Regions from separate parts of the Homo sapiens genome. Here region 1 is linked to region 2. The links are contacts of gene promoters, found by promoter capture Hi-C in blood cells and fetal thymus (Javierre and others, 2016). All regions are on one chromosome and are shown on one strand. Each heading gives the region's core, a stretch centred on a gene start or on the middle of the fragment in contact. The rest is flanking DNA. Distances are from core to core; before and after follow the strand shown.

Region 1 (5,819 bases), core at 523-3,022, 460 kb after region 2:
CGCCGAGTCCTTCCCGGCCGCTCCCCGTCCGCTCCTGTTAGCCGGGGGCCCCGCCAGGACGGGCGCCGGGAGCGGGACGCGGTCGGGGCGGCGACTTTGTGCCTCGTTGACGTTCGCGGCCTGGCGCGGCGGGCGGGCGAGGCGCGCCCCTGACCCGGCTCTGGCTCCAGCCTTCCCGCCCGCCGGCCGCGGCCCGCAGTCTCGCCCCCCGCCCGGCCCGCGCCCGGTCTCCGCTCCCGCTGGGCCTCCCGGGGGCCTCGGGGAGCGCGTCAAGTTGAGGCAGCAACTCGCCGTCAAGAGTCGCGAAGACCATTGTTGGACTCTGCTCTTCGGGAAACAAGTTTTGTGGGTTTCTGTTAATTCGCCGCAGAGTCATCGGGATCCACACCAGCCAGTTCCGAGGCTCCCAGTACCCTTCCCAGTGGCTTTTTAACTCCTGTGAGGTGGCTTGTATGTAAACTGTCTCGAATGCCTCCCTGGTGTATTTGAGCCGGGGGTGGGGGGGGTGGGTGGTCCTTCTTGTGGCTTGAAGTCCCTCCCTCTTAAAGAAGCCCATTCACTGTTTACTTGGAGGTGTTTCCTGTTGAGGTCCTGCTGGCTGTGATCACAATTTAGACTTTTTAATTATAGGTGAACGGGATGGGTCTTTGGATGTACCTCCGTGCCCTGACGTTTCAACCGCGTGACTTAATGTCATTTTCCTGGTACTTCACGTTTTCTCTGTGGGGCTTTGGGTCTGTTTTGCTTTTATGGGAGGGGGTGCTTGACAGGCGTTCCCTTTCATCCTCGCAGCACTTGTTGACGGGGTGGTGTCCTTTATTCGTGGGACGTTTACTTTGATTTTGTCCTCAAGGTCATGTTGCAGATAGGCTTCAAGGGGGACAGGGACTCCAGGTTTCCAACCACCGAACTGTGCCTCAAGTAGCAAGTGTATGAGACCCAGTTATGGTGGTGGTTGGGTTTTCCTCACTGTGGAGTGGAGTCAGTGACCACTTTTTAGCTCTGTGACCTTGGGCAAGTTACCCAGCTTCTCTTTTTTTTTCTCTGTAGTATGGGAATAATAATAAGTGTCCCAGCCATAAGTTTGTCAGGATAATTGCCCTAATACATGTAAAACAGCTAGAGCTGTGCCTGGCACATACAGTCACCTCAGTGGCTGATTAGTGGTTAGGCTAGTTAATGGCTATTATTGTTTAATTTAAATTTGATTTTTAAATGTTTAGGTACTATTGGGAAGTCAGATGAGCATTTGAGTCCCGACTCTTGGTGACTGCCTTTAGAAAGCTCTGTGTAAGACTCAGTTGGGCTGAAAAAGTAAAACTATAAGTTATTTTAATTTTTTCAGGACAGGGTTTTTGACCATTCCTTAAATTAGGAACATTTACCGGAGTAATTAATGAGTAGTAGCGCCTCATAATGTTTAAAGAGATGGTTAAATACAGAAAAGCCCATCACAAGCTTAAGTCGGGCTTTGTTCCTCATGTGCTTTTGGATACTAGTTTCTGGGTGACTGCCACCCGAATCAGTAACTAGGGTTTCTTAGTGTAAGTCCTCCTTGTTACTGAAAACTGTAAGGGTGCCGTGGATTGCAGTATTCTTCAGCAAAGATAGTTTGGGAAATAGCTTTTGTCCTGGAGGGATACTTTGGAAGGTATTCTCCACTTCAGCATGTCTGGTCAGGGAGTCTAGAACATTGAACAAAATGCCTGCACTCAGTCAGAAATAAACTCACAATCCTTTACCGCTTGCCCGATACTCTCCTCCATGGTGCTCGAAACCTTGCGTGCACCTTCCCCTGGTATTGTTGTGTTTACTTGGGACTTGGTTTGCTGTATTGGAGATGTGTGTTTTGATGGACTCAGTCTTAAGTAGAGATGAGTATCTTGCTGGTGGAACTTAAGGACAGGAAGAAGATTGTTTTCGGTTTAGAACTCTAGCCTTTGTGTAAAGTATAGCAAAGCAAAGTCAACAAGCAAAAAGTTGTTAGTTTCAATGAACTAATTGAGAATTTGAGAATCAGACCATAGCTGAGCAGAAAATGAATAGAAGTAACATTGACAGGATGAGGTTGCCTAGCTTTTTAAGATAAAGCTTTGGCCGGGCGCAGTGGCTCACGCCTGTAATCCCAGCACTTTGGGAGGCCGAGGCTGGCGGATCACTTAAGGTCAGGAGTTCGAGACCAGGCCAACATGTGAAACCTTGTCTCTATTAAAAATACAAAAATTAGTCGGTCATGGTGGCGTGTGACTGTAATCCCAGTTATTTGGGAGGCTGAGGCAGGAGAATCGCTTAAACCTGGGAGGCGGAGGTTGCAGTGAGCCAAGTCCAGCCTAGGAGACAGAGCGAGACTCAGTCTCAGAAAAAAAAAAAAAAAAAAAAAAGATAGGGCTTTGCACCTATTTGGTAGATTATGTGCTTGTTACAAATAAACATCTCTTTAAAACAAGTGTCACGATCGGTATTTTATTTCTATGACAACTTCCATTGTCTAGTTCTATATTTTCAGTATTTGAGAGGCAGCCTCTGTGTGTGTTTGTGTGTGTGTGTGTTTTGGTCTAAAATTTTACAGTATTTTACTAAATAAGAGTAAATGATAGTGAAAATAAAGCTCTTCTATCTGCTCAACTAAAACTCAGCATTGACTTGGTCCTTAGAAGTTATGGTCTGCACCCCAGTATTGGCTGCTACTTTTTCTAATGTACTGAAAAAAAGATCTGGCCTCTTGGCTTTAAACAGCTTTCATATTTCTTTCCTTTCTTAACTTCAAATGATTGTCTTTTGATTTACTCTAGTTCAAGAGTTCTCAGTTGGGGGTGGTTCCCCCCTCACCCCCCAGGAAACATTTGGCAGTGTCTGGACATATTTTTGCTTGTTACACCTCTGGGAGTGGGCAGTGTGCTTCTGGAGGGTAGAGGCCAAGGATACTGCTAAACATCCTACAGTGTCCAGCATAGCCTCCTCCCTGCCCGCCAGCAAAAGTATCCAGTCCCAAATAGCAACACTGCTGAGGTTGAGAAATCCTGCACTTAGATAGATGTGAGACTGGCCTACATTAGAATAAGCCTGCATTAGAATAATTAGAAATTTTTTAAGACCATGGATGTTGGACTCCACCTCTGGAAATGGTGGGATTGAGAATCTTATTAATTTTTTTTGAGATGAGTCTAGCTCTGTCGCCCAGGCTGGAGTGTGGTGGTGCCATCTCGGCTCACTGCAACCTCTGCCTCCTGGGTTCAAGCAGTTCTCTGCCTCAGCCTCCCTAGTGGCGGGGATTACAGGCACCCGCCACCATGCCCGGCTGTTTTTTGTATTTTTAGTAGAGATGGAGTTTCACATCTTGGCCAGGGTGGTCTTGAACTCCTGACCTCGTGATCTACCCGCCTCGGCCTCCCAAAGTGCTGGGATTACAGGTGTGAGCTACCATGCCCGGCCACGAGAATCTATTTTTTAGAAGCTTCTCAGACAATACTGAAATGCAGCTGAATTTTGGAACCACTGTTTTACACCACAGGTTTAGGGACTGTTTGTGAGTTAAGGGTTCCTTTCGGTGATCTGTGAACTTGGTCTTTGCAGTACCTAGATCCTGCCTTGGAGATTATTTAGTAGTGGGGATTATTTAGATGGTATACTTAACCATTTTTCAGATGCCTGAAGACTGAACTTTAGAAGCATTTGTTAATTGATTTTATAAAATATCTTAGGACTTTTTTTTCTTAACCTCATGAAAATACATTACCATACTGTGCTGAAACTAAGCAAAATTCTTAGATATTTAGAGTTTGCTTCTGTGCTGAATAATCTTACACTACTGTAATTTTTGAGTTAGTATCTTTTGCCCTCCTTTTGTCAGTCAGTGGTCAGGTCTGGTTTTAGATGCCAGCTTCAACTTTTTTTTTTTTTTTTCGGAGACAGTCTCACTATGTCACCCAGGCTGGAGTGCAGTGGCATGATCTTGGCTCACTGCAACCTCCGCCTCCTGGGTTCAAGTGATTCTCCTGCCTTAGCCTCCTGAGTAGCTAGGATTACAGGTGCGTGCCACCACACCTGGCTCATTTTTGTATTTTTAGTAGAGATGGGGTTTCACCATGTGGGCCAGGCTGGTCCCGATCTCCTGACCTCAAGTGATCCGCCCGCCTCGGCCTCCCAAAGTGCTGGGATTACAGGCGTGAGCCACCATGCCTGTTTTTTGTTTTTGTTTTTGTTTTAATAAAGACCTATTCCCAGAGAATTAGCCCTGGATCAGTTTACCAGTTCTGCCCATTGAGGGCACAGATAGGCATACAGTATGCTCAGCCTTTAACACAGTGATCCTGCCCACTGGTAAGTTGGACTCTTCTGTGCCCTAGACTCTGATCCCAGCAGAGAAGTGTTCTTTTCTCCTGGGGAGATGAGATGCAGTGGTAGAGAGAAGGGTAGATCTTTTTTGCTCATATTAAAATTTAGATTATCTAGTTTATGGAATGGAAGAATATTAGGAAAACTATAAATTTTTAGCAGCTAAATGTTAATATCTGAAGTTACAAAAGGTCATGGAGGCATTTTCTTATTCTTCATCCTGAAATTCGGCCTGTGCCTATGTTGAGAACTACCAGTGACCACCATCTACTTCTAATATCCATTTATTTCATCAGCAAATACATTAATTGAGTCCTTACTCTGCTAGGAACTGTATTAGGGATTCACTGATGAACAGGCCCTTAAGGACCTGCAGTCTAGAGGAAGAGGCAAACAAGAGACGACAAAGCTGTTAAGAATTGTACATGGTGTCAATGGGGCCTGGGAGGAAAGAGCTTCTGTTTGCTGGTCAGTTGGTTGATTTGTTTAAACTTTGGGTGGTTGAGATTGCCAGAAGTTTTGCAAAAGAATAAGATAGTTACACTTTGTTACTCATTTATAAGAAATGATTACTTCGACTTGCCTCCTTAGTTTGAGGAGTCTTAAAAAGCAGTGCCATTCTTCCCATACTGAAGCCGTTTTGTAATGACAGATAGCTGTTTATAGCTCCCTACACAACAGTTATCCTTTGACCAAACCTCAGACACTGACTCTCTGGTTCCAGACCCGTCCGAAGCTTGCTGTAGGTTTTTGCAAAATGTTTCCGGCATTCTTGAAATAGATGCTACTTCAAGTGGGAGGGGGTGTTTCTCCTGCTGCATTATGGATCTAGGTTGACTGGAGATTTTGTTTTGGCCTTTTGACTTTGGCTTAGATTTATTTGTCATGGAAGCCCCCTTTCCTACTTCTCACCCCCTTTAGTTTTATGAGGAGGGAGATAGTTGCTAGTTAGATCAATACTCAGTTTATTTCAGGTATTGAAAGATTACAGACTGACATTTGGATACCAGGTAGGTTGGCTACGTGGTAAAGAAGCAAGTAAAAGGGCATTTGACAGTATGTGGAAAGGTATCTTATCTCTATGCCTAGCTAGGACATTTTCTTTTTTTTTTTTTTTTTTTTGTTGAGACGGAGTCTCGCTCTGTCACCCAGGCTGGAGTGCAGTGGCGTGGTCTCGGCTCACTGCCAGCTCTGCCTCCCGGGTTCACGCCATTCTCCTGCCTCAGCCTCCCCAGTAGCTGGGACTACAGGGGCCGGCCACCATGCCCGGCTAATTTTTTGTATTTATTTATTTATTTTGAGACGGAGTCTCACACTGTCGCCCGGGCTGGAGTGCAGTGGCGCTATCTCGGCTCACTGCAAGCTCCGCCTCCCAGGTTCACACCATTCTCCTGCCTCAGCCTCCCGAGTAGCTGGGACTACAGGTGCCTGCCACCACGCCCGGCTAATTTTTTTTGTATTTTTATAGAGATGGGGTTTCTCCG
Region 2 (5,261 bases), core at 203-2,702:
ATGGGTGCCTGGACTTTGCTGACCGATCAGAAACCCCTAACTCTACAGCCCCAACCCTGAAGGCCACAGTGGCTCTGGGAGGCCTCCAAGGAGGCCACGAGGAGGGTGCCACGTGAGGCCCAGGCAAGCTGGGAGGGAGCTCAGCCCGTGTGAATCTGTTGCTGGAAACCAAATGTGCCCTGAGGCAAAGTTCCTGTTTCCTTCCCCAAATCCGAGTTTCACCCCCTTCACTCTCAGGCTTCCGGGTAGAAAAAAACCTCTCCCTTGTTCCCTCGCCCCACAAACACCCCGGCAGATGGACACCTCCTGGCCCGCCGGCCTCTGTACCCCTCCGAAATGGGAGTACCGCAGCATCCCACAGGAGCAGCCGCGCCCACCTGATGAGCACAGGTGTGTAGAGCAGGGCGGCGATGGGAGTCACGTTGATGCCCATCAGCATTTTGCTGTCGATGTCGGGCAGCCCCATGTTGCCATACTTCACCTCGCGGTAGGTCTCGTCGTAGTGCAGGATCAGCTGCATCTGCAGGAGGCCTGGGGACAGGACAGAGAGCGGCGTGCAGGGAGCAGCCTAGCTTTGGGCGCCACCGAGCAGAAGACGGCATGCAGGCCTCGCAGGGAGCTCCAATCACCGAAGGCATTCCCGCTGACAGCGCCCCTCAGGACAGCGGGGTTCCCGGGCTGCGCCACGCCTTCTGCCAGCCCGCGGCCACTTGGCCAGCTAAGCCCAGACCCCCACCCGCCTTGCTCCGCCGGCCTCCAATTCTGACGGTGGCAGGTCTGTCCGGGAGCCCGGACCCCCGTCCCCCACCCACACCGAGGCTCTGGCTGGGACCCGGGGACGCTGCGCTACTTGACCCCCCAACCCCACCCCCGCCGCGGGGGGCCGTGGCTGCAGCTGCGAGGGCAGCGGAGGGGAAGTGAGAGCGGGCGGGAGGCGGCGGCCCGCGGTTTCTGTTTCCCGGGCCGGGCTGGGAGCGGGCGGGGCGGCCCCGGGTCCCCGAGCGGCACCTACCCAGGTAGACGCCGTAGGTGAGCATGCCCCCGGCGCTGGCAGCCAGCACGTTCTTGAGCACGCCCAGGCGCTTGCGGCGGTAGTAGCGGCGCTCCTCCTCCTCCTCGTTGTAGTTGGGGTACGCGCCCACCAGCTCGTCCAGCTGCGAGCCACGCACGCCGCTCGCACCCGCGATCGCGCCCCGAACCCGTGTCCCCCGGTGCCCGCCGCCCCCCGGCCCGCCCCGCCCCCGCCGGGGGGACCCTGGCCCACAGGGGACGCCCGCGCCTCGCACTCCGGGTCCCCGCTCACCGGGGCCTCGGGCCCGTCCGGGACCCCGAGCAGGTCCTCGTCGCCCTGCGGCCCCGCAGCCCCCGCCATCGGGTAGAGCGGCGGCTCCGCCTCCATGGCCCGAACTACTGCGGACTCGCGGCGGTCGCCCCGGAGTCCCTGCGACCGCCCGGCCACTTCCTCCCGGCGGCCGGGACCTGCCCCCGCCCCGCCCTGTCCCGCCCTGCGGGCCGCCTCCTCCAGGACACGTGTGTGTGTATGTGTGTGTGCGCGCGCGCGCGCGCGTGTGTGCAGGGGCCTGCCTGTGTGTGCCCTCTGGGGTGTGAGTTCGAATCCCCACTCAGCCACCTCCTGGCCCTGTGACTTTAGGAATTAACTCCATTTCTTTGTGCCTCGGTTTCCTCCGTTTCCTCGACGGTAAAACAGAAATACATGGCACTACCCCCGGGGCCATGGCGGAACTATTGAGTTAATGCAAAGCCTTGGAAAAGTGCCAGGGTTGCCTGGCTCCCTTAAGCTCCCCTCAGGGTTGCCTGGGTCGTCCCCAGCCCCACCTCCAAGCCTGCTGTTACAGCTCATCAAAGAGCACTGCAGGGACAGTAGCGTCACCACCTGGACCCCACCTCCCACCACCGGACGCTACAGCCAGAGCCCACCTCCCATGTCCCCATCCTGCTCCAGTTTGGGCTGTGCAAATGGGAGCTTGAGTGGGTCCTGGGAGGTGGAGATTGTGATCCCCACTGAACTACATGGGGGACCCTGCCACAACCATGTAGTGGGGCCCAGAGCCACCTGCCCCCATCCTGCTGGGCACTGGATCCCGGGCTGCAGCGGGAGCCTGTGGTGGGGCCGACACTCCAAAGCACTGGCTACCACCGACCTGGCTGGAGCCACGGGGCCACTTTTGAAAATATCCAGATTCTCTCCCCTGGGTTCCTTCTGGTTTGAATGCTCTTCCTGCTGCGCCTCCCAGGTGGCTTCCTTCCCACTCAGCTCTCAGAACAAGAGACCATCCCTGCAGAGAATGCAGTCCCTTCACTTCCCTTCTGGTTTTCCATGCCCTCCCTGTGCACCCCCCTCCACCCACTGCTCTTTAGGTACATCCTCTCCCAAATGCAGAGGATGGCATTGGGCACCTACTGAGTGATCAATACTTGTGACTGGATGGGTGCATGAGTGACTGGATGACAAACACCTCCCACCCCGCAAGGATTGCTGGGAAGGTGGGGGGAGGCGTGAATCTGCAGTGGCTTCAGGCTTCCAGGAGGTAGAACTTTCTCCAGGTGACGATGCCCAAGTGCAGATGTGGGGAACAGACAGGTGGATTCATGCAGGTGGGTGGCTGGAAGTGGGAGACAGGAAAGGAGCCGAAGAGAGGGCAGGGCCCGAGGCGCAGGGGCAGGGAGGAGGTGGGAGAGTATGGCTATGGCGGGGGCCGTTCTCAGATGGCAGACACCAGCATCATTACACAGTATGATGAGAAAGTGCAATTCTCCTGACTCAGCCTTGTGAGTAGCTGGAATTACAGGCGTGTGCCCCTACACCCAGCTGATTTTTGTATTTTTAGTAGAGATGGGGTTTCACCATATTGGCCCAGGCTGGTCTCGAACTCCTGACCTCAAGTGATGTACCCGCCTTAGCCCCCAAAGTGCTGGGAGTGGGCCCCCCGAGCTTCTCAATTTCCCTGAGGGACCCCAAACTTCTGGGGCCTGGTGCAATCTCTTCCTCCCCTTGTTCCTCTGGGCCTGGGGGTTGTGGCGGTTGCTATGGTTGCCCATCCTGGGCTCTTCCATCACCTGTGCTGTACCACCAATTCCCTGCACTCAATGTCTCCTACTCAAAACACCTGGAGAGGGTCGGGCGCTGTGGCTCACGCCTGCAATCCCAGCACTTTGGCTGGCCAAGGAGGATCACTTGAGCTCAGGAGTTCAAGACCAGCCTCAACAAAGTGAGACAAACCCCCCCCCCCAACCCATCTCTACAAAAAATACAAAAACTAGCCTGGTGTGATGGTGGACACCTGTAGCCCCAGCTACTCAGGAGGCTGAGGTGGGAGAATTGCTTGAGCCCAGGAGGATGAGGCTGCAGTGAGCTGAGATTGTGCCACTGCATTCCAGCGTGGGTGACAGAGTGAGACCTCTCAAACAAACAAACAAACAAAAAACAAAAAAAACAAAAAACAGCCCTGGAGGCACTAAACCCTGACTGATACACCTCCTCTCTCCAGAAAGGATTTTTTTTTTTAGGTGGTTTATGGAGCTGCTCTTGGGGAGCCTGGAGACTATCTAAGAGGCTGATAGGGTGGCCCAGATAAACACACCAGGGTGACCTGCGGGACAGAGATCTGAGCAGGGCCAGCACCTCCACCAACCCATCCAGGTTGCAACAGTGCACAGTCACATCCCCAGGAAGGGGTGGCCAGATCCCCCCGTGCTCACTGTTTGCCAATGCTTTTCTCTATAATAAGCCTTTACTTTCAGTTCTCATTATGAAAATAATCGATGTTCCTTGCAGAAAAGCAAGCAGAAGAGAATAAATATTGCTCTCAACTGGAACTCCCTGAAACAACCTCTTGGAATATTGTTGCCCCGCATTGCACTGACACAGGAGCGTGCTGGGCAGCCCACGTGATTCCCTTCACACCACTTCCCTGGCATGGATGTGATTCCACAATATTTTAAACATTAAAGCCAATGGGGATGATGATCACTGAGTCTGGCTCACAGGATGGTGGGAGGTCCCCAGGTTGGGGTGTGCCAAAGGCTCTGCCCAGTGCCTGGCACAGCAAATGCCCAGGTGGCTGCTGCTTTCCACTGAGACTTGAGGCTCCTGAGAGTTGGTGGCAAAGGGCTCACCCAGAGCTGAAGACTCCAGCCCATTCCTGTGCGAGGGCTCCAGGCACCTTGGAAGCACCGTGGGCCGGGGAGCCAGGCCAGGCTGGTTGTGGATCCCCATGAGTCCTTGTCACTGTGTGGCCCAGCTGGAAAGCATGGTCAATAATGTCTGGGAATTGTGAAAATTGTGTGAAGTGTCTGCACACAGTAGGTGCTCAGTAAAGGTTTGTTGAGTGCGTAAATGAACAAGTGACCCGCATTCACCGTTGCCCGTGAGTTCTGACTGTGTCCTGGGCCCTGGGCCCCTACAGCCTCTAACTTTGCCTCTTCAAGGAGCCAGGGTGGGTCCAGCCTTCAAGACTGCCAGGGAGGGGGTGGGAGGCAGGGCCAGGGCCTCAGGGCCAAGGCCTGGGGCAGCCACTTCCTCAGGAGGGCAAGGAGAGGGGCAGGAGGACATTCACATGCTCTGAGCGCCTACTGAGAACCAGGTGCCCTGTCGGTGCCTTCAGGTCGGCTCTCGTTTCACCCTCGCAGTAGCCATGTGAGGCAGGCAGAGTCAGCCCCCATTTTACAGCTGGGGAAACTGAGGCCCAGTGAGGGGACGTTTCTTTTCAAGGTCACTCGTGGGCAGATGAGGCAGTGAGATGCTCTTGGGCAGGTCTGAGGCCCTGTGAGCCAGGCTCAGGGGCGTGTTTCTGAGAAGTGAGGGAATGAATGAATGAATTATGAATGGATGAATGATTCCACCTGATGCCATGCTCATGCCCTGCCCACACTCCTGTCCTAGAGTCTGGAAGGTAGCTCTCAGACCCTTCCAGAGGGGGCCGGGCACTTGGAATGGTCACAGTTCCGGGCCCACGTGCATGGAATAACTTGTTTCAGCCTCACAATCACTTATGTCCCATTTTACAGATGGGAAGGCAGAGGCACGGGGGGTTAAGACACTAACCTAGGTCACACAGGTAAGTGACAGGACCAGGATTTGAGCCCAGACCTCACACTTAACGCCCTCCATGCCAGGTGCTGAGATCCATGCCTGCCGAACCCTCTCATTCACCCACAGATGCCCCCGGGACTGTAGTCAGCCCCATTCTCACATGGGAACACTGAGGCCCAAAGAGGCGAAGCGTCAGCCCAGCAAGGAG

Evidence for each region. The method cuts DNA at HindIII sites, captures the fragments that hold promoters and counts their contacts. A CHiCAGO score of 5 or more calls a contact.
Region 1: a contact is called between a fragment that was not itself captured here and the fragment with the promoter of UNC93B1 in region 2, in 1 of 17 cell types (total B cells). The highest score is 5.5, in total B cells.

The regions. Positions count from the first base shown.
Region 1 is chr11:68,460,997-68,466,815 of GRCh38, forward strand. All of the region lies in intron 1 of PPP6R3 (protein phosphatase 6 regulatory subunit 3), which reads left to right. Among named protein-coding and RNA genes, the nearest start is that of PPP6R3, 3.2 kb to the left of the region's middle. RefSeq lists silencers at 7-56, 107-216. The HindIII fragment of the contact is 633 bases long and covers 1,457-2,089 here.
Region 2 is chr11:68,002,645-68,007,905 of GRCh38, forward strand. UNC93B1 (unc-93B1 regulator of TLR signaling) reads right to left here and starts at 1,453. Exons shown (of 11, transcript NM_030930.4): 1 at 1,304-1,453; 2 at 1,013-1,154; 3 at 378-531. The coding sequence starts at 1,399. RefSeq lists enhancers at 6-205, 306-355, 456-505, 1,410-1,953, 1,954-2,496 and silencers at 806-1,215, 1,276-1,575. The HindIII fragment of the contact is 17,319 bases long and covers 1-5,261 here.